Linked DNA regions of Homo sapiens: all the other regions are linked to region 2. The links are contacts of gene promoters, found by promoter capture Hi-C in blood cells and fetal thymus (Javierre and others, 2016). All regions are on one chromosome and are shown on one strand. Each heading gives the region's core, a stretch centred on a gene start or on the middle of the fragment in contact. The rest is flanking DNA. Distances are from core to core; before and after follow the strand shown. Region 1 overlaps MISP (mitotic spindle positioning). Region 2 holds the start of MIDN (midnolin). Region 3 holds the start of PRTN3 (proteinase 3). Region 4 overlaps R3HDM4 (R3H domain containing 4).

The links. Contacts are between HindIII fragments. The CHiCAGO score rates a contact against its expected background, and 5 or more counts as called.
Region 1: a contact is called between a fragment that was not itself captured here and the fragment with the promoter of MIDN in region 2, in 2 of 17 cell types (monocytes and activated CD4 T cells). The highest score is 5.9, in monocytes.
Region 3: a contact is called between the fragment with the promoter of PRTN3 here and the fragment with the promoter of MIDN in region 2, in 2 of 17 cell types (naive CD8 T cells and monocytes). The highest score is 5.1, in naive CD8 T cells.
Region 4: a contact is called between a fragment that was not itself captured here and the fragment with the promoter of MIDN in region 2, in 2 of 17 cell types (monocytes and activated CD4 T cells). The highest score is 10.0, in monocytes.

The regions. Positions count from the first base shown.
Region 1 is chr19:757,641-761,489 of GRCh38, reverse strand. It overlaps MISP (mitotic spindle positioning), which reads right to left. Exons shown (of 5, transcript NM_173481.4): 2 at 2,764-3,849; 3 at 1,451-1,581. Among named protein-coding and RNA genes, the nearest start is that of MISP, 8.5 kb to the right of the region's middle. The HindIII fragment of the contact is 9,837 bases long and covers 1-3,849 here.
Region 2 is chr19:1,243,472-1,250,095 of GRCh38, reverse strand. MIDN (midnolin) reads right to left here and starts at 1,513. Exons shown (of 9, transcript NM_001388306.1): 1 at 1,436-1,513; 2 at 1-206. It overlaps LOC102723811 (a long non-coding RNA gene), which reads left to right and starts at 2,024. Exons shown (of 2, transcript XR_007067082.1): 1 at 2,024-2,083; 2 at 2,235-3,828. ATP5F1D (ATP synthase F1 subunit delta) reads right to left here. Exons shown (of 4, transcript NM_001687.5): 3 at 5,911-5,999; 4 at 5,271-5,781. The coding sequence ends at 5,659. RefSeq lists silencers at 1-49, 290-759, 790-909, 970-1,429, 1,520-2,059 and 2 more and enhancers at 903-1,436, 3,372-4,117, 5,249-5,408. The HindIII fragment of the contact is 31,339 bases long and covers 1-6,624 here.
Region 3 is chr19:839,388-845,140 of GRCh38, reverse strand. It overlaps PRTN3 (proteinase 3), which reads right to left and starts at 4,142. Exons shown (of 5, transcript NM_002777.4): 1 at 4,072-4,142; 2 at 1,515-1,680; 3 at 1,107-1,248. The coding sequence starts at 4,132. The HindIII fragment of the contact is 23,301 bases long and covers 1-5,670 here.
Region 4 is chr19:900,298-904,704 of GRCh38, reverse strand. It overlaps R3HDM4 (R3H domain containing 4), which reads left to right. Exons shown (of 8, transcript NM_138774.4): 2 at 2,575-2,729; 3 at 3,159-3,283; 4 at 3,753-3,876. Among named protein-coding and RNA genes, the nearest start is that of RNU6-9, 9.0 kb to the right of the region's middle. RefSeq lists an enhancer at 1-646. The HindIII fragment of the contact is 8,648 bases long and covers 1-4,407 here.

The sequences.
Region 1 (3,849 bases), core at 1,350-3,849, 490 kb after region 2:
ACACGTGTCCCACGATCACCCAGACTCACAGCCATCCCCCTTGCTGTTCCTCATGCTGTTCCCCTCAGTGCAGCCTCTGTCCAACATTCATGATTTATTTAATTTAATTAATTAATTTATTTATTTATATTGGGTCTGAGTCTTGCTCTATCACCCAGGCTGGAGTGCGGTGGTGCGATCTCGGCTCACTGCAACCTCCACCTCCCGGATGGAGCCTCCCTAGCAGCCTCCCTTTAGCCAGGAGTGGTGGCACGTACCTGTAATTCCAGCTACACGGGAGGCCGAGGCAGGAGAATCGCTTGAACCCGGGAGGCAGAGGTTGCAGTGAGCCAAGATCGTGCCACTGCACTCCAGCCTGGGTGACAGAGCGAGACTCCATCTCAAAAAAAAAAAAAAAAAAAAAAGGACATAATATTCCTCATGGCACTAAATATTCCTCGTGTCATTAAAAGTGACGTGAGGAATATTTCATACTGACAAAAGGAGCTCTCATCCAAGAGGATAAACATACATGAACAATTACATGTCTAACAACAAGGCATCAAAATTCATAAAGTAAAACCCCTAAGGCAAAGCTCTGTGGCCTGTAGGTCCTGGAGTCAAGCCTGGGTTCATGAGCTGCCTAACCCTGGGCATGTGAGACCACCAGGGTGCTAAAGGTGTGGTTCATTGGAAGCCCCGAGCCAGCGTGTGACAGACACATCCCTCCGTCTCTCCCTCTCCCTCCCTCCCTTCCTTCCTCGCTTTGTTCCTTCCTTCCCTCCATCCCTCCCTCCCTCCTGCCTTCTCTCTCTCTCTCTCTCTTTCTTAGAAGTAAATATCTGTGGCCAGGTGCAGTGGCTCATGCCTATAATCCCAGCACTTTGGGAGGCCCAAGTGGGCAGGTCACTTGAGATCGGTTTGAGACCAGCCTGGCTAACATGGTGAAACCACGTCTCTACTAAAAATACAAAAAAATTAGCCGGGCGTGGTGGTGCACGCCTGTAATCCCAGCTACTCAGGAGGCTGAGGCAGGAGAATCACTTCAACCCGGGAGGTGGAGGTTGCAGTGAGCCGAGATCGTGCTACTGCACTCCAGCCTGGGCGACAGAGTGAGACTCCGTCTCAAAAAAAAAAAAAAAAAAAGAAACTAATGCTGGTGACGATGACAAATTGCCAGTGTCCTCCTCCTCCAAGCAGAGTTGGTCCTTTGGTCTTTGATCCTGGAGATGACCTCCTGATGGGGACAAAGACCCCAGCTTATATGGCCTCTCCAAGCAGAAGCCCAGAGATACAAGGACACCAAGTTTATCATCTTCTACCTGACATCTGCAGGAGACTGAGGCACGGCCAGGGGTGGGGGTAGTGCTTGAACCCAGGTCAGGCTTGAGTCCTGCTTGAACTTCCTGTGGCCCTAATAGGGGCTGTCTGACCTCAGCCTGGCCTCTGCAGAGACGGGTTCCAGACTCACCCATTGCTCCTTCTTTCTCTGCCCGGGAGGAGCACTGTCCACTGGATCTTCCACTGTCCACGCCACGTTTGAGTGTAGGTGGATGGGGCTGAAGAAGGGAGACTCAGACACCGAGTAACTGCCCGTGATGCCTGTAGGGGAGCAGGGAGGGCAGAACATTAGAACATTTGTCAGACCTCTGCTCGGGAGACAGAGTCTCTAGCCAGCAGCTAAGGAGACAGATGTATGGACAGACAGAGCAGATGACTATCCGGGAAACTGACAGATTGACCAAAGTAGCCAGTCAGGAGAAACTGGATGCACAGATGGGCCGACATGCAAGGTGAAGAACATTAAAAGTGGCCGGGCGCGGTGGCTCACGCCTGTAATCCCAGCACTTTGGGAGGCCGAGGTGGGTGGATCACGAGGTCAGGAGATCGAGACCGTCCTGGCTAACACGGTGAAACCCCATCTCTACTAAAAATACAAAAAAATTAGCCAGGCGTGGAGGCAGGCGCCTGTAGTCCCAGCTACTCAGGAGGCTGAGGCGAGAGAATGGCGTGAACCCGGGAGGCGGAGCTTGCAGTGAGCCGAGATCGCGCCACTGCACTCCAGCCTGGGTGACAGAGCGAGACTCCATCTCAAAAAAAAAAAAAAAAAACATTAAAAGTGACACAAGGAATATTTCATATTGTCAAAAAGGTGCAACTGTCCAAGAGGATAAACATATATGAACAGGCCGGGAGCAGTGGCTCATGCTTGTAATCCCAGCACTTTGGGAGGCCAAGGCAGGGTGGATCGCCTGAGGTCAGGAGTTCAAGACCAGCCTGGCCAACATGATGAAACCTGTCTCTACTAAAAATACAAAAATTAGCCGGGAGTGGTGGTGGGCACCTGTAATCCCAGCTACTCAGGAGGCTGAGGCAGGAGAATCGCTTGAACCCAGGAGGTGGAGGTTACAGTGAGTTGAGATCCTGCCACTGCACTCCAGCCTGGGCGACAGAGCGAGACTCCGTCTCAAAAAAGAAAACCGAAAAACAAAAAACAAAAACAAAAACAAAACACACAAAACATATATGAACATTTATGCGCCTAACAACAAGGCATCCAAATCCATAAAGCAAAAGCCCTAAGGTAAAGTTGACATTTCTCTCCAAAATCTACATTTTTAATAGACAGGCAGACAAACCAGCGACTGAGGGGATGAACAGTCAGGAGGCAATGTCTCCCCAACCCCAGCCCTTTGACAGCCTCAAACTCCACCTCCCCACCCTCCCCTGCTCCAACCTCTGAGACCCTGAGCCAAGCAGCCACTCCCTGGAGCCCCTTCTCACCGGATGCCTGGGAGGAGCTCCTGGAGTTCTGGTCAGAGTTCTCATCTGGCGTTGGGGAGAAGACCTCTGGGAAGAGAGCATTTCTCCGCTCCTCTGCCACCTCTTGCTCCCGGCGCAGGACACTCTCCCTCTCCCTTTCCAGCAGATCAGATGACTGGGACTTCTGCAGCCTCAGTGCAGGGGCCCCAGCCACCTCCCAGCCCCAGACATGGGGGACTTGGGCCTGCTGGGGCTCGTCTGGGGCCCTGAACCGCAGAGGACGCAGGCGGAAGTACTCCCACCGCACGACACCCCTGTTGGCTTGCGGGCATCCCCGAGGGGGCTTCGATGCCTCTTGCTTTGTGCTCAGGGGTTTTCCAGAGGATTCTGAGAGATGCCTCGGGGACATCGTGGCCTTTGGTGAAGTCGCAGCCTTGGCCTCCGCTGTGGAGAGACTGCTGGGCTTGCCGAATGCTCCGAAGGCTGAGAATTCTAGCTGGGGGGTCCCGGGGCTCAGGTACGGCTGGTAGGCATCAGGTGGGATGCGGTTCACCTTCCTCACTTCTGGAGCTGGGTCGGCCGCACGGGCATCTGGGGCCGGGCTGAGGATGGAATCTGAGCTGAGGGCTCTCCGGAGTCCGGGCTGGGGACCCTCCGAGACCCAGTCGGGTGTGGACGCCCGGCCCACGTGCAGGCCCTCCCGCCGGTGGTCTTCCTCACGCTGTGTCTCCTGTACTATGTCCCGCTGCACGTAGAGGGACGGGCGCCCTCTCTCCCGCCGTGGGGCTGTGATCAGGCTCAGCTTGGTCAGCAGCGGCCTGGTGGGGATTTCCACCAGCTCCTGGTGGTCGGTTGCCTGCCGAAGCCCCCTCTGCTCTCGCAGGTCTGCCTCACGCTCCTGAGCCAGACGGATCTCCCGCTCGATGGGCGTCTCCTTGGGGGTCCCCGGGGACTCCACTGAGGCCAAGGAGCCAGGGTCATCCACAACTTGGACACTGGCCCAGGTGGGCACAGCACGCACCTTGTTCTCTTCCCTGACCACCCCCTTCACCTGGGGCTTGATGGGAACCACGTGCCCGTTGGCCAGGTGGGGCTTGTTGAAGGCCT
Region 2 (6,624 bases), core at 264-2,763:
CGGCTCCTGGGGGCGCCTTCCGGGGGTGGGGACGGCACTTGCTTCTCCTTCAAAGGGCGGCGGGCGCGACCGGGACGCGGCGCGGTTAAGGGTCCTGGGGAGGGGGCGCCGCTCGGCTGGTGGCGCTGGGTGCCGTCTGCCGCCCGGGTCGCGCTTCCTCGCGCGTCCCCTCCCTTAGCAACAGCCGTCGCCGCCGCTCGGAGGATCTGGGGGTGAAAGTAACAAGAAAAAAAAGTTATAATGTATCAACGTTCCAGGGGGCGGGGCCGCCGCCCCCTCCCATTCACTACTTACTCCGCCGGCCGGGCGCCGGCCAATCGCCGCGCGCCGAGCGCCCAGTCGGCCGCGAGCCCGGGCCTATGAGAGCCGCCGCGGCACCGCCCCACGTGGCAGCCGGGCCCGCCCCCTCGCCCCGCCCCCAGCGCCCAGGCGACCAAGGGGAGCGCAGCGGGGGCGGGGCTGGCGCCTCTCCGCGCCCGCCCCCGCCCCGCCCGCGCCCGCAGCCATTCATAAGCGCCCGGAGCCCGCAACAAAGGGCGGGCGCGCCCCGGGGGGCGCGGGACCCAGGTCTGGAGACGGGTCTGGTACCCCTCGCGATCCCAAGGGAGCGGCCGGGAGCGGGAGGGGGCGCGGGCCATTGTTCCCGGCGCCGGGAGGGGCAGGAAGTCGTGGGGCCACCCCGCCGCCTTCGTCCGGGAAAAGCCGCGAGCGGAAGCGGGAGCGCGAAGTCCGCGCCTCGTGGCCGGGGTCCCGGGGCGGGCGGGCGACGGTGAGGCTAGGGCCGCGGCCCCGGGGAGGGCGTGGTGCGTGGGGGCGGAGTTGTGGCCGGGGCGGGGCGCCCGCACCTCGGTGACGTGGCCGGGTGGCTGCCGCCGGGGGCCCCGCGCGCCCACCCGCCGGCCGCGGGCAGAACCCGTTTCCCCGAGGCGCGCCCGCTCGAGCCGTGACGTGACGCGGCGTCCCCGGCTGCGCCCGCGCGCGCTCGGGGATGCGGTGAGTCAGCAGCTCGGGCGCGCCCTCTGCCGGGCCCGCCTGGGAGCGCCGCCCGGAGTCCCGGGGAGGGGGCGCCGCGCTGCCCCTGGCAGGGGAGGAAGACGACTGGGCTGCGCGCGGGGGAGGAACCCCGATCGGGAACGAAAGACTGTAGTCGGGAGACTGGGACCGTGTGGCTGGGCAACGGAGGGCGGAACGGCAACCAGTTCAAGGTCACCCGCGGTGAAGGGGGAGTGCCCCGGGGGGCGGGGCGGGGGCTGAGGTCCGGCCAGGGCGGCGCTGGCTGCGCGGAGCCCCTCCCACCCCGCACCCCGGGGGGCTTCCCAGGACCGGAGGCTCCCCGATCCCTCCTGTCCCAAGAACAAAGAAAAGTGCGGGCATCCTGAGCCATCTAGAGTGGGCACCCTTCCTCGGCCCGCAGGTCCCCCCCCTCCACACTCACCGGGCGCGGCCGGTTCTGCGCTCCAAGTGCTGCGAGTACCTTCGTCCGGGGCCGAATGCGCGCTGGCCGGGCCGGTCTGGGCCAAGCGCGCGGCCCTCAGCCTTTATCCGCGCCGCCTTCCCTCGGGGTGGAGTTAGGGCGGGCAGGGGGGCGGGGGGCCGGGCGGGCGGTGACGCAGACTGGCCCCCGCCCCTGCCTGCCGGCCCTGGCCCTGGGGCGCCTTGACGGCTGGGCCACCCGGGACCCAGGCTTGGCGCAGTTCATGGGGGGACTCCCCTTGAATGCCCCGAGCCAAGGGTCTCGGCCCGCCTCGCCGCGGGCTGAGATGCACCCCGAATCGTCAGCGGGACAGGGTTTTGGGGTGTACAGCGCGACTCGCTGCCCCGCCCCCTTCCTGTCGCCCCAGGCCCGGTGCTTCCGCCTGGGGGCGCCCGCGTGGGGGGGACGGGAAGAGGGGCCTGAGTCAGCGGCTGTCGTCCAGGAAAACAGGCTGGAGTCACCTGCCGTAGAGTGGGGGTGCCCTGGCCAGCCCTGGCCTCCTGCATCTGTCAATGGTGACCTCAGAGGGCATTTATGGAGCGATTAGCCAGTGCCAGGCCTGCCTTGTGCCCAGCCAGTCACCAGCCGGCTATGCTGTGACCCCGGGAGGTAACTGGCCTCTCCAAGCCTCAGTTTCTCCAGGGTGGGTGGGAGTGTGGTGAGGGGATGCGGCAGGATCACTTTGGGGCCATCACCCCCCATTAATGCAGGACATGCACTGGTTCCCAGCCTTTGGGGTGGGCATTACCCCATTTTACAGATGAAGAAACTGAGGCCACAGCCAATGAGACACGAATGTGGTGTGCATCTCACCCTTCCCCGTCGGCTTTTTGAGGATGGTCCTGGTTGAGGTGGGCCCCGTCCTGCCCCTCTATTTAGAGAAGGGGACCCCATTCCTACGGGAGCACCTCCTGTCCACTCATCTGGCCCCTCCCTTTATCTGGCCTGACCACCTCCACCCCCACCCTGGCCATGGGCGCCCCTCCCAGGGCTGCGCTCCTCCCCAGGTCTCCTTCCGGCTGCCACCCATGCTCCCGGCAGCCGTGGCCCCCACCTTGACAGGCACACCCAGCCCCGAAGGGTCAGGGCTAGGCCAGAGAGGGAGAGGCTGGGATAACCCTTGGAAGGGGGTCACAGGGGCTGCGGTTTGAGGAATGACTAGGAGTTTGTCACATAAAAAAGATGATGCGGTCGGGCGCGGTGGCTCACGCCTGTAATCCCAGCACTTTGGGAGGCCGAGGCGGGCGGATCACAAGGTCAAGAGATTGAGACCAGCCTGGCCAACATGGTGAAACCCTGTCTCTACTAAAAATACAAAAATTAGCTGGGCATGGTGGCATGTGTCTGTAGTCCCAGCTACTCAGGAGGCTGAGGCAGGAGAATCGCTTGAACGCGGGAGGCGGAGGTTACAATAAACCCAGATCGTGCCAGGGCACTCCAGCCTGAGCGACAAAACGAGATTCCGTCTCAAAAAAAAAAAAAAAAAAAAAAAAGGCCGGGCGCGGTGGCTCATGCCTGTAATCCTGGCACTTTGGGAGGCCGAGGCGGGCGGATCACGAGGTCAGGAGTTCGAGACCAGCCTGATCAACATGGTGAAACCCTGTCTGTACTAAAAACACAAAAATTAGCCAGGCGTGGTGATGTGCGCCTGTAATCTCAGCTACTTGGGAGGCTGAGGCGGGAGCATTGCTCGAACCCGGGAGACGGAGATTGTGGTGAGCTGAGATTGTGCCATTGCACTCCAGCCTGGGCAATAAGAGCGAAACTCCTCTCAAAAAAAAAAAAAAAAAAAAAAAAAAAAGACGATGGTCCAGGAAGTGGGAATGGCTTGAGCAGTTCTGGGAGCTTAGTGAACTGGACCCAGTTGGAGGGAGGAGGGGCAGGGTCGATGAATGGGGCTTGGATGAAGGGCTGGGGCCCCAGGTGGGAACTACAGGGCCAGGCTCATTCTGCTTCCAGTGAGAACAAAGGTGGCGGAGGGAGCCGTGGACTGGTGCCAAATGAGCAGCCCAAGCAGGACACTGGGGCCCCCTGTGAGTGGCCAGCAGCCCCCACCTCCCTCCCTGCCTCTTGCCTCTCGTGTGTGGCTCTGCCACCTGCACACCGTCACCTCAGTCTGGTCGGGAGTGGAATGGACACCGTCACCTCAGTCTGGTCGGGAGTGGAATGGACACCGTCACCTCAGTCTGGTCGGGAGTGGAATGGACACCATCACCTCAGTCTGGTCGGGAGTGGAATGGGACACGGGTTGTCGGAACTTGCTGGGCTTCACAGGGGCCACTGTGTGGCCCTTTGGGGACCAGATGCCCAGAGCCAGTCTAAATGAATAAACATGCTAAAACGCTTCCCCACCATTTCCCATACTCGGCGTCCCCATGGTTGAGTGGGTTGTTCCTGGGTGTGATGGGGACAAACCCTGTGCTCTGTTCTGCCTCACTAAGCCAGGGGCTGCCCTCACTGAAGGGCCTTGACCGCCTGGTTCCCGGCCCCACCCTGACTGCCTCCTGCTCCAGGACGCATCCAGCCAGCACGGGCTGTTCCCTCCGAGTGTCAGGTGTCTCGGGTGTCCTGAGGCCTGGCTCCAAGGTTCACACCCTCCCTGGTGGTGGGGGCAGGGGAGGTCCCCGGAGTGAGCAGCTCCTCCCGCTGGGCCCCTGCTAAGTCCCAGCTGTGCCCTTGGTCTTATTTATAGGGTCCTGGTGGCCTGGCAGGAACTTGAAGACCTGGGGCTGGAACTGGGGGCGGGGGGGAGGGGGGGCCTGGGCAGAGGCTGCTCCTGTGGCCTGGTGGCTGACACAACCTTCCCTGGGCTGCGGATTCCTGGAGAAGTGGGGGCCTGGTCACTCGTGTCCCGAGGCCCAAGTGGAGGGGGAGCCAGGCAGGGGACCGTGGGCTGTTCCAGAATACCTGATCTGCTGACCGGCGGCCTCAGAGTCGCAAGGCCCCCAACGGCACCTCGCCTCAAGTGAAGCTGTGGCAAGTCACCCGCATAGTGCCATGACGTGGGAGTGAGCTGCCCGTCCGTGCTGACAGGCCCGGGGCGGCCTCTCTGTCACCATCCCAGCTCCAGTGACACAGGCAGGCCCACCCTCCCCACTCACCCCCCTGGAATTCCCTGCCTACCCCACTGCACAGGGCCCTGTCCCAAGGAAGGGAGGAGGTCAGGAGACCCCAGCCCCCGCCGTCCACACACCAGCTGGAGCCAGTGTTGCCCGCCCCCAGGGTTATGGAAAGGAGAAGAGGCAGGCCCAACGGGGCAGTGCCAGGGAGCCGCCCCCTCCTGGGCCCACCCCACTCCATCTGGGGCCAACCCAGAAGCCTAGGTGCCCACGGAGGTGCCAAAAACACTGCAGATTCGGCACCCGGCCAGGCAGGGCCACCCACAGGACCGGCTGGCACAGGGCGGGGCCAGCGTGGGAGCGGGTGGGGCCCGCCTCTTTCCAGAGGCTGGTGGGCAGGGCCAAGGGCCAGCAGGGCTCAGGGTCAAGGCCTGGAGACCAGGAACTCGGCAGAGGCGCCAGGAGCAGCAGGGACACCCCTCCCTGACCGATGTCCCCATCACTGGTGACCTTCACCCTCCCCACCGTTGTAGGGTGAAGGTCAGCAGCCTGCCCGCCTGGCTGCACCCCACCCACCCCCTCGAGCCTGCTTCCTACGGACCTCCAGGTGCCCTAAGGGACATAGTCCAGGGGAGCTCAAAGGCCCTATTTGCAAGGGACATGGAGGACGTGAGCAGGGGCCCAGGACGCTCCCGGCTTCACCGGGCCAGGTGGAGGAACAAGAGCCGAGCACACAGTCAGGCTTCCGGGTCTTTAATGGGGCGGGGGCTGGGGGCAGTTCATCCAGAGGTGGCTCCGAAGCTGAGGTCAACCTTGGCGGCTGGCTCTGCAGGGCAGAGGGGATGGTAAGCGGCCCGTCAGGCTGGGGGGATCTTGAGAGGCGGAAGGAGAGCCCCATGGGTGGCAGCCACAGCTCAAAGCTGAGGAGGAGCTTCCCTGGCCCAGTCCCCAGAGCTTTCAACACAGGCAGGGCCTGGGGCCCAGGCAGAAGCCTGCACTGCCCTCTGGTGGCCTCCTTGGCAGGCGCGGCTTCCCCAGGTGGCCGGGACCCCAGGAGCTGGCTGGGCCCACCTGGCATCCCTGCCCAGCCCCTGGCCGGGCCTCGGGACACCGGGTACGCACCGCCTACTCCAGGGCCTTCACCAGGGCCTCGTTGGCCTCGATTCGGATCTGGATCTCTGCCCGCGTGGCCTCGTCAGCTGTCCCCACCAGCTCCGCCTGGGCCTTCTCCAAGTTTGCCTTGGCTGCCTGCAAGGGGTTGAGGGGCGGTGAGGGGCCAGCAGCGACCCCAGCCCGGCTCCTGGTCCCCCAGCGCTCCCTCCCCCGCAGCCTGGACAGCTCCAACCTGCTGAGCCTCAGGTCCCCTCTGACACTCACCCCCAGGTCCAACATGTCCAGCGTCACGGCCTCTTCGGCCAACAACTGCACCGAAGAGTCGGCGTTCACTGCGATGGAACCGCTGCTCACTGGGGGAATGGGGCGGGGGGAAGGCGTGAGACCCCAAAGGGCTGCACAGCCTCAGGGACTCCCCTGGTCAAGTCCAGAGCCCCCTGTGAACCAGGAGCTCCACAAACATCCAAGTCTGTGTCCTGAGTGTGCAAACAGACCCACAGGACTGGCCCTGGGCCCAACATGGCGGGCAACTGCTAGAGAAGAACAAAACAGGGGCCGCAAGAAAGGACTAGAAGCTGGAGGAACCCCCAAAAGCACTGCCTGGGGACAGAGGCCCTCCCTCTGACCCACCACCCATGGGTTGAGCTGGGGTCAGGGCCAAAGGCAAGCTGAGTTCAAATCTGGCCACCACTGGAAACCAGTGAGGCTTAGAACTGCTTTTTTTCCTGCACAAATGACCTTCCTCCCCTAATCTGATCAGCCCTCCCAACATGGTTTTTTGAGGGGTTTTTTTGGCACAGGGTCTCACTCTTGTTGCTCAGGCTGAAGTGCAGTGGCATGATCTTGGCTCACTGCAGCCTTGACTTCCCCGGCTGAAGCGGTCCTCTTGCTTCAGCCTCCCGAGTAGCTGGGACTACAGGTGTGCACCACTACAACCAGCTAATTTTTTGTAGTATGGGATTTCACTATGTTGCCCAG
Region 3 (5,753 bases), core at 2,893-5,392, 410 kb after region 2:
CACCGTCTCTACTAAAAATACAAAAATTAGCCAAGCGTGTTGGTGCATGCCTGTAATCCCAGCTACTCAGGAGGCTGAGGCAGGAGAATTACTTGAACCTGGAAGGCAGAGGTGGCAGTGAGCCGAGATTGCACCACTGCACTCCAGCCTGGATGACTGAGTGAGACTCTGTCTAAAAAAAAAAAAAAAAAAAATGTCTTTTATAGAGATGGGGTCTCACTAGGTTGGTCAGGCTGCTCCCAAACTCCTGGCCTCAAGTGATCCTCCCATCCCAGCCTCCCAAAGTACTGGGAGTACAGGCGTGAGCCACAGTGCCCAGCCCCAAGCACTTACTGAGCACCACCTGTATGCCCAGTCCCGTTCTAAGCCACATGAGTCCAATAACGAACAACACAGACAAAAATCCTCTGCCCTGGGGAGCTGATCTTTCTGGGTGGGAGGAGGCTAGGAGGGCCCCATGAATGAGAGGAGCACGCGGTTCAGTGGAGAACAGTGAATCGGGGAGGGCTGTGGCTGTCCTCGCCACTTCCAGTGAGGTCAGGGGAGGCGCCGGAGGAGGCGAGGGCACCTGGCTTTCTGGGGGAACAGCACACCGGGCGGAGGCGCAGGCAGGGGAGAGGGGCAGGCAGGGGAGAGGCGCGCAGGGGAGAGGCGCGGGCGGGGGAGAGGCGCGGGCGGGGGAGAGGAGCGGCCGGGGGAGAGGCGCGGGCAGGGGAGAGGCGCGCAGGGGAGAGGCGCGGGCAGGGGAGAGGGGCGGGCAAGGGAGAGGCATGCAGGGGAGAGGCGCGGGCAGGGGAGAGGGGCGGGCAAGGGAGAGGCGCGGGCGGGGGAGAGGCGCGGGCGGGGGAGAGGCGCGGGCGGGGGAGAGGCGCGCAGGGGAGAGGCGCGGGCGGGGGAGAGGCGCGGGCGGGGGAGAGGCGGGGAGGAGGAGTGGCCTGGTGTCCAAGGAGCGGTCTCCCCCGGCCAGTGCCACTGGACCCAGGCTGCAGCGGCCTCGGTCGTGGCCCGGTATACAGTGGGTGCTCAATGAATGCTGGCTGCAGGAATGGGGGTCCCGGAGCCCTCTGGCCGTGCCCCTCCGAGCCCTCGCGGCCCTGCCCGCCCACCTGGATGAGGAGAACGTCGTTCAGTTTGTTCTCCGCGTCGTAGTTGTTCAGAAACACCTGAGCCACCGAGAAGTGCTGCTGGGTGGGCTCCTGCGTCCGCACGTTGTGGGCTCCGAGCACCACGTTCACCAGGCGCTGGGGTCTGCGGGGGTGGGGTGGTCACTCCTCGGCGCCCTGGACACTCGCCGCCGCCCACAGCCGGCCCTTCCCGAGGCCGCGGTGCAGCCCCAGACCCCTCCCTCGGCGACCCTGCCCCGGGCCTCCCCCCAGAACTGCCCACGCGCGCGGGGCCTGGGGTCTGCAGACGGGGCTTAGCTGGGTCCTCCCCGGGCAGAGGGACAGTGGCCGGGCCAGGGCTGGAGGAAGAGGGCGGGGCGGGCGGACAGGGGTGTGGAGGCGGCCGCTCACATGTCCCGCAGGCAGTGCGCGGCCGTCAGCACGAAGCTGGGGTGGATCAAGGTGCCTCCGCAGAAGTGGCTGCCCGGGTTCCCCCGCATCTGCAGGGAGGCCATGTAGGGCCGGGAGTGTGGCTGCGCCTCGTGCCCGCCCACGATCTCCGCAGCTCGGGCAGCACCTGCAGGGGGGGAGTCCAGGCGTCAGGGAGCCCCCAGGCTGCAGGGAAAGGGGGGATGGCAGAGCAGCCCCTGGGCCTCTCCGAGCCTCCGTCTCCCGATCTGCAACCCGGTCAGTGCCTGCTGGCTGGTGGGAAGGACTCAGCGCCCAGGCCGGGGGGGTTATAATTACGACGATTTCCAAAGGCGCCCTGGTGGCAGCTTTCAGTCCTGAGAGTCAGGAAGGCTTTTAAGACGCAGACCAGGTGGCTGGGTGCAGTGGCTCACGCCTGTAATCCCAACACTTTGGGAGGCCGAGGCAGGAGGCTCCCTTGAGCTCAGGAGTTCAAGACCAGCCTGGGCAAAATTGTGAGGACCCCATCTCTACAAAAAATTTTAAAATTAGCCAGGCATGGTGGTGTGCACCTGTCGTCCCAGCTACTTGGGAGGCTGAGGAGGGAGGATCGCTTGAGCCCAGGAGGTCAAGGCTGCAGTGAACTGAGATCACACCACTGCACTCCAGCCTGGGCAACAGAGCAAGACCCTGTCTCTAAAACAAAATTTAAAAAAATGTTTTTAAAGAAGCAGAAAAATTGGTCGGGTGCGGTTGGCCCACGCCTGTAATCCCAATACTTTGGGAGGCCGAGGTGGGTGGATCACCTGAGGTCAAGAGATGGAGACCATCCTGGCCAACATGGTGAAACCCTGTCTCTACTAAAAATACAAACATTAGCTGGGCGTGGTGGCACGTGCCTGTAGTCCCAGCTACTCCGGAGGTTGACGCAGGAGAATCGCTTGAACCCAGGAAGCGGAGGTTGTGGTGAGCCAAGATCGCCCCACTGCACTCCAGCCTGGCAACAGAATGACACTCCGTCTCAAAAAAAAAAAAAAAAAAAATTAGCCAGGTGTGGTGGTTCGCACCTGTAATCTCAGCTGCCTGGGAGGCTGAGGCAGGAGAATCGCTTGAACCCAGGAGGCACAGGTTGCAGTGAGCCGAGATCACACCACTGCACTCCAGCCTGGGCAACAGAGTGAGATTCTGTCTCAAAAAAAAAAAAAAAAAAAAAAAATCCTGGGCGCAGTGGCTCATGCCTGAGTGAGACCCCATCTCAAAAAAACAAAACAAAACAAAATAAAAAAAAAGAAGCAAAAAAAAAAAAAAAAATCAGCCAACAAAGAGACCCATTTTGCAGATGAACAAACTGAGGCATTGAAAATCCCCCTCAGGTCAGGAGTTCGAGACCAGCCTGACCAACGTGGTGAAACCCCATCTCTACTAAAAATACAAAAACTAGCCAGGTGTGGTGGTGTGTGCTTGTAATCCCAGCTACTCAAGAGGCGGAGGCAGGAGAATCATTTGACCCCAGGAGGCTGAGGCTGCAGTAAACTGAGATTGCACCACTGCACTCCAGCCTGGGCGACAGAGCAAGATTCCGTTTCAAAAAAGAAAAAAAAAGGGCCAGGCGCGGTGGCTCACGCCTGTAATCCCAGCACTTTGGGAGGCTGAGGCAGGCGGATCACGAAGTCAGGAGATCGAGACCATCCTGGCTAACACCTTGAAACCCCGTCTCTACAAAAATTACAAAAAATTATCCAGGCATGGTGGTGGGCGCCTGTAGTCCCAGCTACTCGGGAGGCTGAGGCAGGAGAAAGGCGTGAACCCGGGAGGCTGAGCTTGCAGTGAGCCGAGATCGCGCCACTGCACTCCAGCCTGGGCGACAGGGCGAGACTCCGTCTCAAAAAAAAAAAAAAGAAAAAGAAAAAGAAAATCACCCTCAGGATAGGGACCTGAGGGGGCCCATGCTCTCTTCTTCCCCTGATTCCAGCATCACTAACTCCTCGACCCTTTCACTCACTCACTCATTCATTCATTCACTCATTCATTCGTTCACTCATTCACTCATTCACTCATTCATTCACTCATTCACTCATTCATTCACTCACTCATTGATTCATTCACTCATTCATTCGTTCACTCATTCACTCATTCACTCATTCATTCACTCACTCATTGATTCATTCACTCATTCATTTGTTCACTCATTCACTCACTCACTCATTCATTCACTCATTCATTCATTCATGCATATTCACTGAGCATTTGCTGAAGGCTGGGTGCTGTCCAGGAATTCGCCTGTTACTAGCTAATTCCCAAAACAGCTCCTCAGGAGGGAAGGGCTGGGTTTTGCCCGTTTTACAGATAGGCAACTGAGTCAAATGGCCAGGGCTCCCCCTTGCCCTTGTCCTCCCCACCCCTGCAAGCGTTGGTCCCGAGCAGTGAGTGGAGTCTCCCCTGACCCTGCCTCAGTTTCCCCAGCTGTGCCAGAAGGGCTTTGGATGGACCTCGTGGTGGATATTTCCCCACAATCCACCGGGGCCTGGAGGCTGGATGGATGGGCACGTGGCTCACTCACCGCTCAGCAGCAAGGCCAGCAGCACGGACGCCAGGGCAGGGCTGGGGGGCCGGTGAGCCATGGTGGGGTCCAGGGTGCACCCACGGTCAAGCTCCTCTTATAGCCCAATGCCAGAGGCCGTTGAGTTGCCCAATGCCCAGGCTGGGTCCCCACTTCCTCCTTTTGCCTTGGGAGCCTGGGAGTCAGAACGGACTCCGGGGAGGAGGTGGGGGCTTTGGGCTCAAGGTCCCAACCTTTGTGGGGGCGGGGAGGCTGGCTGTCACCCACCCAAGTCGGGGGTCCCTGGCCAGGTGGGCAACATGGCCACAGCCCTCAGAGCAACACATGCCCACGTGCCACCCACAAGGAGACGCCTCCCTGACGAGGTCCCTGTGGCCCCAGCAAAGCCGGCCGTGGCAGGTGTGTCCCGTGGGTGGGTGAGCTGGAAACGGACAGACAGCAGGACGTAGCAGGGGACAGGATGCAGAGCTCGGGAAGGCAGGGCCCCACCACGAGTGCCCTCAGTGCCTCACCTGAGGCCCCAGCGAACATCCTCCTGCCAGTTTTGTCTGGGGGTTTTCTTCCCCCTTTAAGGCCAGGATTCTCAATCAAGAGGTGATTCTGCCCCCAGGGGACCCTGGGCGAGGTCTGAGGACACCTGTGGCTGTCACGAAAGGGGAGCTCCTGGCATGGAGTGGGTGGAGGCCAAGGATGATGCCTAGCACCCTGCAGTGCCCAGGACGGGCCTGCCCCAGAGAAGGATCCAGCCCCGATGTCCACAGGGCCCAGGGGAGAGACCAGTGTTCATTATTTGGGGAAAAAAATGGCCAGGTGCGGTGCCTCACACCTGTAATCCCAGCACTTTGGGAGGCCGAGGCGGGTGGATCGCCTGAGGTCAGGAGTTCAAGACCAGCCTGGCCAACATAGTGAAACCCCATCTCTACTAAAAATACAAAAATTAGCTGCGCGTGTTGGCGGGCGCCTGTAGTCCCAGCTACTCAGGAGGCTGAGGCAGGAGAATCACTTGAGCCTGGGAGGCGAAGGTTGCAGGGAGCCAAGATCGTGCCACTGCACTCCAGCCTGGGCAACAGAGCAAGACTCCATCTCAAAACATAAATAAATAAAAATAAAAAATAAAAAATCCAGTCTGCCCCCTGCTCACACCGGACACCAGAATAAACTCCCGATGGGGCGTACGGCATAAACCCGGGGGACCCCAGCTCCCGGGACTCGCCTCCTCTCTCCCTCCCACTCAGGGTGTGGATTTCAATGTGTGCAGCCTCCTGGGACCTCAGCAGGGCAGAGGATCATGGGACTCAGAGTCTCTTGGGGTCTGTGGAATCCTCTAACCCTGGGGTGATTCTGCCCCCAGGGGTCCCTGTGTGAGGCCTGGAGACATCCGTGGTTGTCACGACTTGGAGGGAGCTCCTGGCAGGGCCCTGCAGTGCCCAGGATGGCCCCGCCGCAGAGACAAATCCAGCCCCCATGTCTGCAGTGCCGGAAACGGGGGAAAGCCGAGGACAGAGGATAAAATTATTTATTTATAACTGAACGGTTTAAACCTACAGTGAAATGGAGAGAAGCACTGAATGAACTTGGAGGCCAAAAAGAAAAAAAGCTTTTTAACGTTTCATTTGGAAAGGATTTCACGCTTACAGAAGTCCAAAGGGTCCAAACTCCCTCCCCGCTCCCCAAACTCCCTC
Region 4 (4,407 bases), core at 1,907-4,406, 350 kb after region 2:
TTCTGGGCTCAAGTGATCCTCCCTCCTCAGCCTCCTGAGCAGCGGGGACCGTGATGTTGCCCAGGCTGATCTTGAACTCCTGGCCTCAAGCTGTCCTTCCTCCTCACCTTCCCAAAGCTCTGGGATTACAGGCATGAGCCACCGCGCCCAGCTTGCCTCGAGTGAATCTTGTCTCAACTGGCCTAGAGTTTCCTAGCGTTTTCCAGTCTTTTGGGGGTTGCAGGGGTGGAGTGGGTTGCTTTTAATTTTTGTGTTGGGAACTCTGGATGCTATTAGGGATTTTCGACTGTGGGCTCTCTTGGAATCACAGAATTTTTATTGAGGATTGATTTGGTGGTTATTTTTCTGAGCGTCTCCTGTGAACGAGGCTTGGCTGTGAGTGCCGGCGGTGGGGGTTACAGCCAGCCAGCAAACCCGAGCCGCCTGTGCGAAGGTCCGAGGCGGGACGGGAAATCGTGTCTTGGAAGCAGCAGCGGCCAGGAGGTGCCACTGTGGGGTTGGAGCAGAATGTGTTTCAGGTGGGGTGGAGTTAGGAGATAAGGGTGGAGCCGATCCTGGTACCCCCAGACCCTGGAGGCCATGGTCAGCCCTGTGGTGTGGGGGTTTGTGAGCCCAGTGGAGCTAGCATTACGGTTTTTTGTTTGTTTGGCTTTTGAGACAGAGTCTCGCTCTGTCGTCCAGGCTGGAGCGCAGTGGCACGATCTCGGCTCACTGCAAGCTCTGCCTCCCCGGTTCACACCATTCTCCTGCCTCAGCCTCCCGAGTAGCTGGGATTACAGGTGCCCACCACCACGCCCGGCTAATTTTTTTGTATTTTTAGTGGAGACGGGGTTTCACCGTGTTAGCCGGGATGGTCTCAATCTCCTGACCTCATGATCCGCCCGCCTCGGCCTCCCAAAGTGCTGGGATGACAGGCGTGAGCCACCGCGCCCGTCCTGTTTGTTTTGAGACACGGTCTTGCTCTTGTTGTCCAGGCTGGAGCGCGCGGTATTGCAGTCACAGCTCACCGCAGCCTCAAACTCCCCAGGCTCAAGGGATCCACCCACCTTGGGCTCCCAAAGTGCTGGGATTACATGAGCTCCCACGCCCAGTTTGTGTGGTTTTTCCTTGCCAGAAAAGTCCCCATCCATGAGGCCCCCCCTCACCGGCCCGCTTCCCAGGTGCCGGGTGGCTGCGGTGCGCGCCTACCTCCCCCCAAACGCCGCCCGCTTCCCGGGTGCCCGGTGGCTGCGGTGCGCGCTTACCCCCACCCTGTCCAACCACCCGCTTCCCAGGCGGCTGCCTATTCCCCCCACACTGAGTGGCTCGGCCCTTGGATTCTCGGTGGGAGGCCCAGCTGTGACAGCTAATCCATCTCCACAATTAATGCCATTTGCTCCGGCCAGGCCGATTAGCTCTGGAGGGGGGCCGCTGCAGCCGCACTCTCCTCCTGGCCCTGGGGACAGGGGACATTAAGGGGGGGGTTTGCGGGGGGGGCTGAGGCATCACCTTGAGCTTCTGGGGCTGTTTTCTGGCTCCTCTGCTGCTGGGAGTGGGGGATGTGGATAAAATCAAGTTTCTTGACTCTCCATTTCTGAAGGAAGCTGTTCACGTCCCAAAGGCTGTGGGCCTTGCTGGCTTACAGCTAACACCTTGAACACTGGGGTTGGGGGTGGGCGGCAGCTTTTCTTGGTCATTCACCTGCTGTGTGACTTTGGGCAAGTGTCTTCACTTCTCTGAGCCTCGGTTTACTAATCTATCATCACAGTTTTTTGTTTTTTTTTGAGACAAGGTCTCACTCCGTCGCCCAGGCTGGAGTGCGGTGGCACAATCTCAGCTCACTGGAGCATCTGCCTCCCGGGTTCAAGCGATTCTCTCACTTCAGCCTCCTGAGTAAGCTGAGATTACAGGCGCACGCCACCACGCCTGATTAATTTTTGTATTTTTTTTGGTAGAGACAGGGTTTCACCCTGTTGGCCAGGCTGGTCTTCAACCCCTGACCTCAAGTGATCCACCCACCTTGGCCTCCCAACGTGCTGGGATTACAGGCATGAATCAATGTGCCTGACCTAATTTTTTTTATTTTTTTTGGACACAGTCTTGCTCTGTTGCCCAGGCTGGAGTGCAGTGGTGCCATCATGCCAACCTCGACCTCCTGGACTTAAGTGATCCTCCTGCCTCAGGCCCCTGAGTAGCTGGGACTACAGGCATGTACCAGCACACCGGTTAATTTTTTAATTATTATTTTTTTTTGTAGAGACAAAAAAATAAGTCTTTTTTTTTTTTCATAGTCTTGCTATGTTGCTCAGGCTGGTCTTGAACCCCTGAGCTCAAGTGATCCACCGGCCTCAGCCTCCCACAATGCTGGGATCACCGGCATGAGCCACCACACCCAGCCCGTCTTCACAATTGTATCTGCTTCCTGTGATGTGAGGATGAAACAAAATAGGATTTTAAGGGCCCAGGACTTCACACACCGTAGGGGTGAGCTCTCCATTGCTGGGGGAAACCAAGCGGGCCATGGCTGTGGTAGGGCCCTTCTCGGAGATCCTGGCCGGCCTTGACCCTGAGGACCACCCCTGCCCCGGCCCACAGGCCCCTTCCCAGCTGCCTGCCTGCCCTAGCCAGCTCCCAGGTGAAGAGACTCTCGGCTTCCAGGCGGAAACAGCACTTCATCAACCAGGCAGTGCGGAACTCAGACCTCGTGCCCAAGGCCAAGGGGCGGAAGAGCCTCCAGCGCCTGGAGAACAGTGAGCAGGGGTCGGGAGGCGCCTCCTGGGGGCTCCTGGGCCTTGTAGAATGGCATGCATATTGGTGTTATCTGTTACCCCTCCCATGAGCTGTGCCTGGGTGGGGCTGGGGACCCAAAGAGGTGTCAGCTGTAGGCCGGGGGACCATATAAATAGAGCCAGACACAGGCGCCCCCTGGACTCTTGGATCAGGGCTGGGTGGGAGGGCGCCCCGGGCATTGGAGCTGGGGCTTTAAAGGATATATAGGAGTTCGACAATCCAGAACCTGGGGTCTAGGTGGTCTCTGTACCTTCTGGGGAAGACAGTTGGAGCATGGAGGTGCGGAGGTTGAGATGATAAAAAAGGAGGAAGGCTAGTTCTTGGGTCCCCATGGTGCCTGGGGGTCCCCAAATGCCACCCCGGCCCAGAGAGCATCTGTTTCCACCTAGCCCAGTACCTCCTGACCCTGCTGGAGACAGACGGGGGCCTGCCTGGCCTGGAGGATGGGGACTTGGCACCCCCTGCATCACCAGGCATCTTTGCCGAGGCCTGCAACAACGCCACCTATGTGGAGGTGTGGCCCCCAACCCCCTCACTCCCTCCACACGGGGACCCCGGCAGTTCTCCTACGGCCAGGCCATCGCCTGTGCCCGTCCCCCGCCAGAAGCACCCGCCCACTTCTGATCTCCTAATGAAGGCCCCTCAGTCTCCTTCGGGGTCCCCAGACCAGGCCAGAATCCCCACCCCACCCCTGGAACCTTCGAGCTCCTGGATTCACCTGCCCAACACGTTTGGGAACCCTCCAACGATTGCAGGAGTGTTTCACCTCAATCCCCCCCACCCCGAGACAGCTGGGCCCACCCCGGTTCCCCGCTTCCCTGCGCTCAGCTCAGGGCCCGACACAAGCAGCGGCCCCTCAGTGGACAGAGGTGACCGCAGGAGCGCGTCCACGTGCTTGGCGGCCTTACCGTGCCCATTTGCCCGGGGATGTCAGCGCAGCCCCAGTGTTTCATGGCAAGCCTGCCTCCCTGCCTCTCTTCCAGGTCTGGAACGATTTCATGAACCGCTCCGGGGAGGAGCAGGAGCGGGTTCTTCGCTACCTGGAGGATGAGGGCAGGAGCAAGGCGCGGAGGAGGGGCCCTGGCCGTGGGGAGGACCGGAGGAGAGGTGCGGGCCTGGCTGGGGCGGGTATGGGTGGGGCCAGGGTATGGATGGGGGCGTGGCCTGGGGTGGGTGGGGCCGGGATGGGGGGGCAGGATATGGATGGGGTGTGGGCGGGACCTGGAGTGGGTTGGACCTAGTATGTTGGGCCCAGGTATGGATGGGGGATGGGGGCGAGGCCTGGGGTGGGTGGGGCCGCGATGGGGGGCAGGATATGGATGGGGTGTGGGCGGGACCTGGAGTGGGTTGGACCTAGTGTGTGGGTGAGGCCAGGGTATGGATGGGGACAGGGCAATGGGGTGTGTGGGGCCAGGATGGGGTAGGTAGGATATGGATGGGGCGGGACATGGAGTGGATGTGGCCAGCATGTGGGGGCAGGATCTGGATGGCAGTGGGTAGGGGTGGGGCTAGCTGGCTTGTGTGGGCCTGGAGTGGGTGGGGCCTCATGTCTAGCTGGGGTGAACATACAGGTGAGGGTAGGGTCAGCTGGATGGGTTGGGGTCAGGGCCTCGTGGGGGTAGGGTCTGCTGGCTGGAT